Regions from separate parts of the Homo sapiens genome. Here region 1 is linked to region 2. The links are contacts of gene promoters, found by promoter capture Hi-C in human tissues and cell types (Jung and others, 2019). All regions are on one chromosome and are shown on one strand. Each heading gives the region's core, a stretch centred on a gene start or on the middle of the fragment in contact. The rest is flanking DNA. Distances are from core to core; before and after follow the strand shown.

Region 1 (4,689 bases), core at 655-3,154, 42 kb after region 2:
GATATCTCAGAGAATTATCACCTACCCAGCATTGCAGGAGCAGGGGCTTTAGCTTTTGAGTGGCTGGGTCACTTTCTCTACTGGGCTGGAAAGACATATGTGGTGAGTTAAAGCATGGCATTCTGGATGCTCTAGAATGATACTTATCCACTTCAGTGACTTGCACACCAATTTCTTTTTTTTTTTTAAATACCTGTGCACCACTTATGCTATTATTTATTTAATGTTTATCTTTAAACCAAGTCACTTAAACATTTTTTTTTTCTTTTTTTGAGACACAATTTCACCCTGCTGCCCAGGCTGGAGTGCAGTGGCGCCATCTTGGCCTCTGCCTCCCGAGTAGCTGGAATTACAGGCATATGCCACCATGCCTGGCTACTTCTTGCATTTTCAGTGGAGATGGGGTTTCACCACGTTGGCCAGGCTGGTCTCGAACTCCTGACCTCAAGAGATCTGCCTGCCTCGGCCTCCCAAAGTGCTGGGATTACAGGCGTGAGCCACCGCTCCCGGCCTCATCTCACTTTTAAAATATGTTTTTTTGTAAATTAAATTTGTTATCACTATTTGTTGAATTAGGTATTTTTTCCCCAATAATAATTTAAATAAATACATGAAAATGCTCACCTGAGCGTTGGTTCTTGGCAGGAACATGGCATGCTCCAAAAGCATGATTCAAGGCAACTAAGTGAAGAGACTATTTTCAAAGGTGTGCACAGGGCTAGGGAAAATGAACAAATGATGGTGAGGCATCCTCACGGTTTACAAGTGTGCGAAGACATAAGTCTAGGTGTGAATAGGCAAGGGGAAGAAGTGGAAGAACCTGGTGAGGGCTGTAGCTGTAGGAGAGTAGCTGATATGGACTGTGACTTTAGGCACAGAAGCTGGCCACTATCAAGATGTATGGTCTGGCAAGGAGCCAGCTAAAGGAATAAGAACCCCAACCCCTCCTTCCTCCTGCCCTCTAATCTGCCAGTGCTTCCATTGGCTGAACCTCCCCAGAAGCCAGACAACAACCCTTCAGCCTAGCAGATAAAGTCCATAGATGTTGGCCTATGGGGGCACAGAGTAGGGTGGAGAAGGGTGGGAATTAGACCTAGAGGCAAAATAAAGACATCCAGCACACCTGTGGAGTGATATATTTTGAAGAGAAAGATGATGGCTAATGACAAGAACATTGGCCTGACAGATCAAGAAATAAGGTATTGAAATAATTTTTAATCAGGAAAGTACTTGCTGTCCATTTATTTATTTGTCCAGCAATCATTTATCTACTACCAATGCGTTGAAATCCTTGAAAGAAGGCAAAGTAGGGAATATAAAACAAATAGCCGACATGTCCCTGCTATTTTAAAAACAACTTTGTTGTGATATAATTCACATAACACAAAATTCATTCTTTTATTGTGTAGAATTCAGAGATTTTTTAGTGTGTCCATTGATGTACAGCCATCATCAGTTGTCCCTGCTCTTCTGAGGAGATAAAATACATATATAAAATAAAGAAGCATATGAAGCAATGTATTTAGAGACAAAGCAATATGGTACAATCTGAATTCATAAGTGCCAAAGATGTGCAAGCAGAATGAAATTGAGTGGGGTTAGTCAGAAAACACTCCCTCAAATAGGTTAGTTTAAAAATAGTTTTGAAAAAGGAAATGGAAGAGTGGACATAAAAACCAGTTTTAAGTATTTTCTCTATCTCTTATTAAAGTGTTTAACTCCAGGACAAATTGTTTAACTTTAATCCACTTTACCTGTGAAAAAATAGGGAATAGAAATCCTTCATAAGCTTAATGTGAGGATTACAGGAGTTTATATTTTTAAAGATAAAAAAGTACAGTGCCTGGCACATTATTGATAATCATGAAATATTAGGGAACTACACTGATAGAGAAGAGCAAGGAGAGATGTCATCATTTATAGGGACATAAACATCTTTTTTCGGGAGTCTAATCAAATATATTCCTATCCAGCAGTGTTCACATTGTCTGGATGTATAATTAGGAAAAGCAGTTATTTTTATGCAAAGTAAATTTAGTTCCCTTCTCTTTGGAGGCATGAAAACAGATAAGCCCCATGAGGGCAGGTGCCATGCCTGTTTGCTTGTTGCTGTGTTTCCAAGGCTTATTACACTACCCAGCACATAGTGCCAATCACTATTTGTGGTTGAATGAATGAATGATTAATCAAGCAATTTATTAATGATTGCAATAAATATTCAGAAATAATAATGTCACTTGAAAGCCATTAACTGGCCATACAATTATGTTTTTTAGATACAAAGGCAGTCTGTGTTGACGGGACACACAGACATTGTTACCCACGTGAAGCTATTGGTGAATGACATGGTGGTGGATTCAGTTGGTGGATATCTCTACTGGACCACACTCTATTCAGTGGAAAGCACCAGACTAAATGGGGAAAGTTCCCTTGTACTACAGACACAGCCTTGGTTTTCTGGGAAAAAGGTGACAAATTAAAAGATCTGATCATTTAGTAATACTGAATAGCTCTATATTTATGATAATACTTTCTCTCGCTTATTGTGAGTACTTAAAGCAGACTCCTAAAGGAAATAGTGTTTTGGTAAGATCTTGGTTTAACCAAGTTTTCTGTTATTTGAAAAAAAAGCGCCTTATTTGATGGTCACAATTGAAAGCCTTATTTGATGGTGATAAGTGATTATGTAAGTTCAAATGCACTATGGAGATTTTTTTTGTTTACTTTATTTTGAGTGAACCCAACTTAAAAGTATTTTAATTTATAACTGTTTTTATAGTCTTAAGGACTTCTGTTGAATATTTTAGAAGCTTTGAATCAGGTGGTGACTAGGCATTTTACTATTTTCAATCAGTTTTGGGCACTGACTGTTTTAAAAACTGTTTCTAAAAACTAGGCAAATGATTTCACTTCTCCGTGTTTCTTTCCTTATCTGAAAAATGGGACTGTTAACTATTATTCTACCTCCTAAGTTTTTTTTTATAAAGATTATATGAGAGTATTCATGAGGAGTGGGAATAGTTCCAGGTACAAAGTAAATGCTCCGTAGTTAAGCTCATATTATTATTACTCAACCTGCAAATACAGGAATGTTTCTAAAGCAAATGTTACTTTTACTTCCTCAGCTTTTACAAGCAATAACTATTTTTGTTGATTCTGTTTAGCTACCCACTAGGTATCCATCTAAGTTTCTAAATTTTAATTTTTTCTGACCATAATAGTGACATATTTCAACTGTGAAAAACTTGAAAATTGCAGAAATGCATTAAGAATAAATAAATTATTCACACCATTTCTACCTAATATATCCCTTAAGATTTTCTTATTTTAAGTCATTTTTTTCTGCAGAGATAAAATATACATAATACAGAATACCAGATGATTTTAAAAATGTATGTATATATATGAACTAATAGTTGAGTCACTTGATCTCCAATTCCAATAACATATATGGGCCATAATTCCTAGGATATTTAAAGAGACCTGATTTGCATTACATGGATTATAACACAGACATTTAAAAGAGATGGAAATTTATGTACCATATCCAAAGACAATCATTCTTGTCAAATAATAAAAAGGTCTCTTAATTCTATTTTGGAGTCACTTGAGTCTGAATACAAAGAAAGCATTTTTTTTTGTTTTTCAAAAAATATAATTGTTAGGGAAAAGCATTTTCATTTTTGTAAAAACATATTGATAATATTATCTCAAGAGTAACTTCTTCTCCACCTCAGGGACTTTGTCAGTAATCTTCCCAGTGTTCTGATATGGTTGTTTGAGTACTCTCACTAGCCAGGATAAAGCTCTGGTGTGACCTTGGGGACTTCCCCATAAATGAGTGAGTCATCTCAGCATGTTTGGGGGAAATTCATCCTTCTTACCCCTCTTTAAATCCCCCCTCCAAACGCTTATACACTGCAGATGGGGATGTAAATTAGTACAACCTCTATGGAAAACAGTGCAGAGATTTCTTAAAGAACTAATAGTATTTCTATCATTCGATCCAGCAATCCCACTACTGGGTATCTCCCCAAAGGAAAAGAAGTTATTATATCAAAAAGACACCTGCACACATATGTTTATGGCAGCACAATTTGCAATTGCAAAGATAGGGAACCAACCTAAGTGCCCATCAACTGATTAGTGGATGGATAAAGAAAATGTGGTATAAATACACCATAGAATACCACTCAGCCATAAAAAAAAGGAGGAAATAATGTCTTTTGCAGCAATTTGGATGGAGCTGGAGGCCATTATTCTAAGTAAAGTAACTCAGGAATGGCAAACCAAATACTATATGTTCTCACTTATAAGTGGGAGCTAAGCCATGGGTATGCAAAAGCATACAGAGTAATATAATAGACTTTGGAGACTCAGAAGGAGGGAGGGTGGAAGTTGGGTGGGGGATAAAAAAAACCCTACATATTGGGTACATTTTTACACTACTCAGGTGACTGGTGCACTGAAATCTCAGCCTTTACAGCTGTACAATTCATCCATGTGACCAAAAACTACCTGTACCCCAAAAAGCTATTGAAGTTAAAAATATATATATAATAAAAGCAAAAGAATGGAAATTAACCAAAAAAAAAAAAAAACAGTCCTCTGCAAATCCTCTCCCAGGTTGTCAAGTGCTGTTGTTGCTTTTGCAAATCTGTGTTCTGGTTCCATGGTTTGATGTCTAAT
Region 2 (4,750 bases), core at 1,920-4,419:
TATACTGAATGGGGAAAAACTGAAAGCCTTTCCTCTAAGGTCTGGAACATGACAAAGATGCCCACTTCACCACTGTTATTCAACACAGTACTGGACATCCCAGCTAGAGCAATCAGACAAGAGAAAGATATTAAGGGCATCCAAATTGTAAAGGAGGAAGTCAAATCATCCTTGTTTGCAGATGACATATCTCACATGCTGAGAAACCTGGAGACTCCACAGGAAAACTAGCAGAACTGATAAACAAATTTAGTAATTCAGTAGTAGCATTTCTGTATGTCAAGAGTGAACAATCTGAAAAAGAAATCAAGAAAGTAATTCCATTTACAATAGCTACAAATAAAATTAAGTATCTAGGAATTAACCAAAGAAGTGAAAGATCTCTGTAATGAAAACTATAAAACACTGATTAAAGACATTGATTAGGACACACAAAAAATGGAAAAACATTCCATGTTCATTAATTGGAAAAGTCAATATTGTTAAAATGTCCATACTCCCCAAAGCAATCTACAGATTCAATGCAATCCCTATAAAAATACCAATGACATTCTTCACAGAAATAGAAAAAAACAATCCTAAGATTTATATTGAACCACAAGAGACCAAGAATAGCCAAAGCTATCCTAAGCAAAAGAACAAAACTGGAGGAATTACATTACCTGACTTCAAATTATACTACAGAGCTATAGTAACCAAAACAGCATGCTACTGGCATAAAAATAGACACACAGATCAGTGAAACAGACTAGGGAATCCAGAAAGAAATCCACACACCTACAGTAAACTCATTTTTGACAAAGATGCCAAGAACATACACTGGGGAAAAGACAGTCTCTTCAATAAATGGTGTGGGGAAAACTGGATATACATATATAAAGGAATAAAACTAGACCCCTATCTCTCTCCATATACAAAATTCAAATCAAAATGGACTAAAGACTTAAATCTAAGACCTCAAACCATGAAACTACTACAAAAAACATTGGGGAAATCTCCAGGACATTGGTTGGGGTAAAAATTTCTTGAGCAATACCCAACAAGCACAGGCAACCAAAGCAAAAATGGACAAACGAGATCACATCAAGTTAAAAATCTTCTTTACAGCAAAGGATACAATTAACAAAGTTAAGAGAAAACCCACAGAATGGGAGAAAATATTTGCAAACTACCCATCAGACAAGGGATTAATAACCAGAATAAATAAAAAGCTCAAACAACTCTATAGAAAAAAAATCAAATAATCCAATCAAAGGATGGGCAAAAGATTTGAATAGACATTTCTCAAAAGACATACGAATGACAAACAGGCATATGAAAAGGTGTTTAACATCATTAATCATCAGAAAAATGCAAATCAAAACTACAATGGGATATCATCTTACCCAGTTAAAATGGCTTATGTCCAAAAGACAGGCTATAACAAATGCTGGTGGCAATGTGGAGAAAAGGAAACCCTTGTATATTTTTGATGAGAATGTAAATCAATACAACCACTATGGAGAACAGTTTGGAAGTTCCTCAAAAAACTAAAAATTGAGCTACCATATGATCTAGAATTCTACTGCTGGGTATATGCCTAAAAGAAAGAAAATCAGTATATCAAAGAAATATCTGCATGTGAATGTTTATTGCAGCACTGTTTACAATAGCTAAGATTTGGAAGCAACCTAAGTATGCATCAACAGATGAATGGGTAAAGAAAATGTGGTACATATACACAATGGAGAACTATTCAGCCATATTCAGTCACGTCCAACAACATGGATGGAACTGGAGATTATTACGTTAAGTGAATTGAGCTAGGCACAGAAAGGCAAGCATTGCATGTTTTCACTTATTTATGGGATCTAGAAATCAAAACAATTGAATTCATGGACAAAGAGAGTATAAGGATGGTTGCCAGAGGCTGGGAAGGGTGGTGGTGGGTGGGGTGGGGGATGGGAGATGGGGACAGTTAATGGGTACAAAAAATGTAGAAAGAATAAATAAGACCTACTATTTGATAGCACAACAGGGTGACTACAGTCAATAATAACTGTACATATTAAAATGACTTAGAACATACTTGGATTGTTTGCAACTCAGTGGATAAATGCTTGAGGGGATGGACACCCCATTCTTCATGATGTGCTCATTTCACATGGCATGTCTGTTTCAAAACATCTCCTGTACCCCATAAATACATACACCTACTATGTACCCACAAAAATTAAAAAACAAACAAACAAAAATCCAATCAAAAGACGTTCAGCTCAAAACAAAACCTCATGCATGTGTTACTCATAGGGAGAACCTTATATCATTAAGAAAAGGTTAAGTTACATTTAGTATAATTTATTTAAGAAAACAAGGAGGTTGGCCTGTTGTACCGCGGTGGCTCACGCCTGTAATCCTAGCACTTTTGGAGGCCGAGGTGGGCGGATCACGAGGTCAAGAGATCGAGACCACTCTGGGCAACATGGTGAAACCCCATCTCTACTAAAAATACAAAAATTAGCTGGGCATGGTGGCGGGCGTCTGTAGTCTCAGCTACTCGGGAGGCTGAGGCAGGAGAATCGCTTGAACCTGGGAGGCGGAGGTTGCAGTGAGCTGGGATCATGCCACTGCACTGTAGCCTGGGCGACAGACAGAAATTCAGTCTCAAAGAAAGAGAGAGAGAGAGAGAGAGGAAGGAAGGCAGGCAGGAAGGAAGCTTGTACAATGTTTCCTTCTCAAAGCAGACACTTGAACATATCTTAGGTTTCTGGTAACTAGTTTCAGCTGTCTCGATAGACCTGATAAGTCAGTATTTTAGTTAATATGTAGTAAAGTTCTGAGAGTACTCTAACCAACTTCCTTGTTTTTAACTCTCTCCCAGGGTATTTGTCTATTAATTTCAGCTTTGTTTGCTCTTAAATTTAAAAATATGTATTTGGCTTCTGAGTTCTGTTTTCTCTCTCAGTTGCATTGCTTGATTTGGGTGCCTCTATTTTTCCAATAATTCTTTATTATAATAGTGCTACTGTTTGCTAAAGCATACGTGGTCAAAACCCAATTCCCTGCAGAGCTGAAAAGAGCTCAGAGAAGTAAGGTGGTGGACGACCCACTGAAATGTTCCAGTTTCAGACTGCATGTGTCACACCCTTGCTGAAATACAATTCGTTTTCTTTAATTTCCATGTGAAGTGCACTTCTAAGAACTAACCTTTAGTCACTGGGTGACTTTATGGGAGTAAAAGGAAGCTGTTATGAAATAGCTCTTATGGAACTGTTACAAGCTTTCAAGCATTCAAAGGTCTAAATGAAAAAGGCTAAGTATTATTTCAAAAGGCAAGTATATCCTAATATAGCAAAACAAACAAAGCAAAATCCATCAGCTACTCCTCCAATTGAAGTGATGAAGCCCAAATAATTCATATAGCAAAATGGAGAAAATTAGACCGGCCATCTAAAAATCTGCCATTGGTGAAGTGATGAAGAACATTTACTGTCTTATTCCGAAGCTTGTCAATTTTGCAACTCTTGGCTGCCTATGGATTTCTGTGGTGCAGTGTACAGTTTTAAATAGCTGCCTAAAGTCGTGTGTAACTAATCTGGTAAGTCTCACAATCTAATATTTGTCTTTGCAGGAACTAGAACATGTAGCATTCAGCTTGTTATAACTGATAGAATTGTTTTCTCTTTATGAGGAGTTTTCTTATGAGAAGTGGTGGCAACAAGGCAAGATAGATTATTTTTTCTTAAATAAGTTAGGAGCCCTTATAATTGCAGAAGATAAAGCAGGCTATTTTATTTCTTTAGGGTATGTGGTCATATATTTTTTGGGCTAGAGGACTGGGTAAAGGAGGTTTAAATGGAATCAATTTTGCCAATTTTGCACACTTAAAAACTTTCTATTTAAACTTATTTATTACAAAGTCATTAGTAGTTGTCTTGAAACCTGAAATCGGTTTGGCCACAGGATAATGCCTGCTAATTCCAGCTGTGTAGGGAGCTGGATGAAAAAGGAAGCAGATACAGTTGCCATGTAAAATAATATTTTAAAGCAATAATTATTTGTACATTTCTTTATTTCTGTTTGTGCATTTATTATTTTAGTTAGTGAGTTTTTTATATGGAAATTCATGCTTTCATTCTCATTTCTGGGTGTCATCCCTTCTCTAACTATTGTACCATCTCTTTTCAGTTGTAATTTAGTTGTGCTTAAAACAGTCACTGAATTAACTTTAAAAACCAAGTACTCTATAGACAGAGAAAATGCACTCTTCCTGTCTAAAGACAAATAAAATATCATGATAGTTTGCATATGACCCTATCTATAGCCATACTTTTAAACATAATGCAAGTACTAAATATAGTATTCATTATATTATTCTAAAGTATTGGAGATAGAATTATGTGGCAGATTAAAAAGAAACTTGCACTTATACACTTTTGATTTAAACTGTAGTTTAAAACACTACTTAGGTTTACCATGGTTAGTAGCATTTTTTTAAAAGTTTAGTATTTTATATAAATCTTTGCCGAAGACTTCATTGCCTTTAATATAGAATTGCATGCTTTAGTTTTTTATATTTGTAACCCAAACTTAAAAATGGAAGAATGGAACTACTAAATGTTTCAACTACTGAATGGAAAACTAAATGTTCTAAAAAAGATTTTAACTTTTTTCTAATTATAATAAGAGTATACATTTTAAATAAAATATTTATAACATAGAGAACTACAGAAGAATAAAAAACTTCTAATTCTAGCCCTAGTAATCTTTT

Evidence for each region. The method cuts DNA at HindIII sites, captures the fragments that hold promoters and counts their contacts. A contact is called where the count stands out against the background at its distance.
Region 1: a contact is called between a fragment that was not itself captured here and the fragment with the promoter of ROS1 in region 2, in 1 of the 25 tissues and cell types used here (spleen).

What each region holds. Positions count from the first base shown.
Region 1 is chr6:117,381,096-117,385,784 of GRCh38, reverse strand. It overlaps ROS1 (ROS proto-oncogene 1, receptor tyrosine kinase), which reads left to right. Exons shown (of 44, transcript NM_001378902.1): 16 at 1-102; 17 at 2,277-2,468. Among named protein-coding and RNA genes, the nearest start is that of ROS1, 43 kb to the left of the region's middle. The HindIII fragment of the contact is 5,252 bases long and covers 1-4,530 here.
Region 2 is chr6:117,424,361-117,429,110 of GRCh38, reverse strand. ROS1 (ROS proto-oncogene 1, receptor tyrosine kinase) reads left to right here and starts at 3,169. Exons shown (of 44, transcript NM_001378902.1): 1 at 3,169-3,577. The coding sequence starts at 3,455. The HindIII fragment of the contact is 9,117 bases long and covers 1-4,617 here.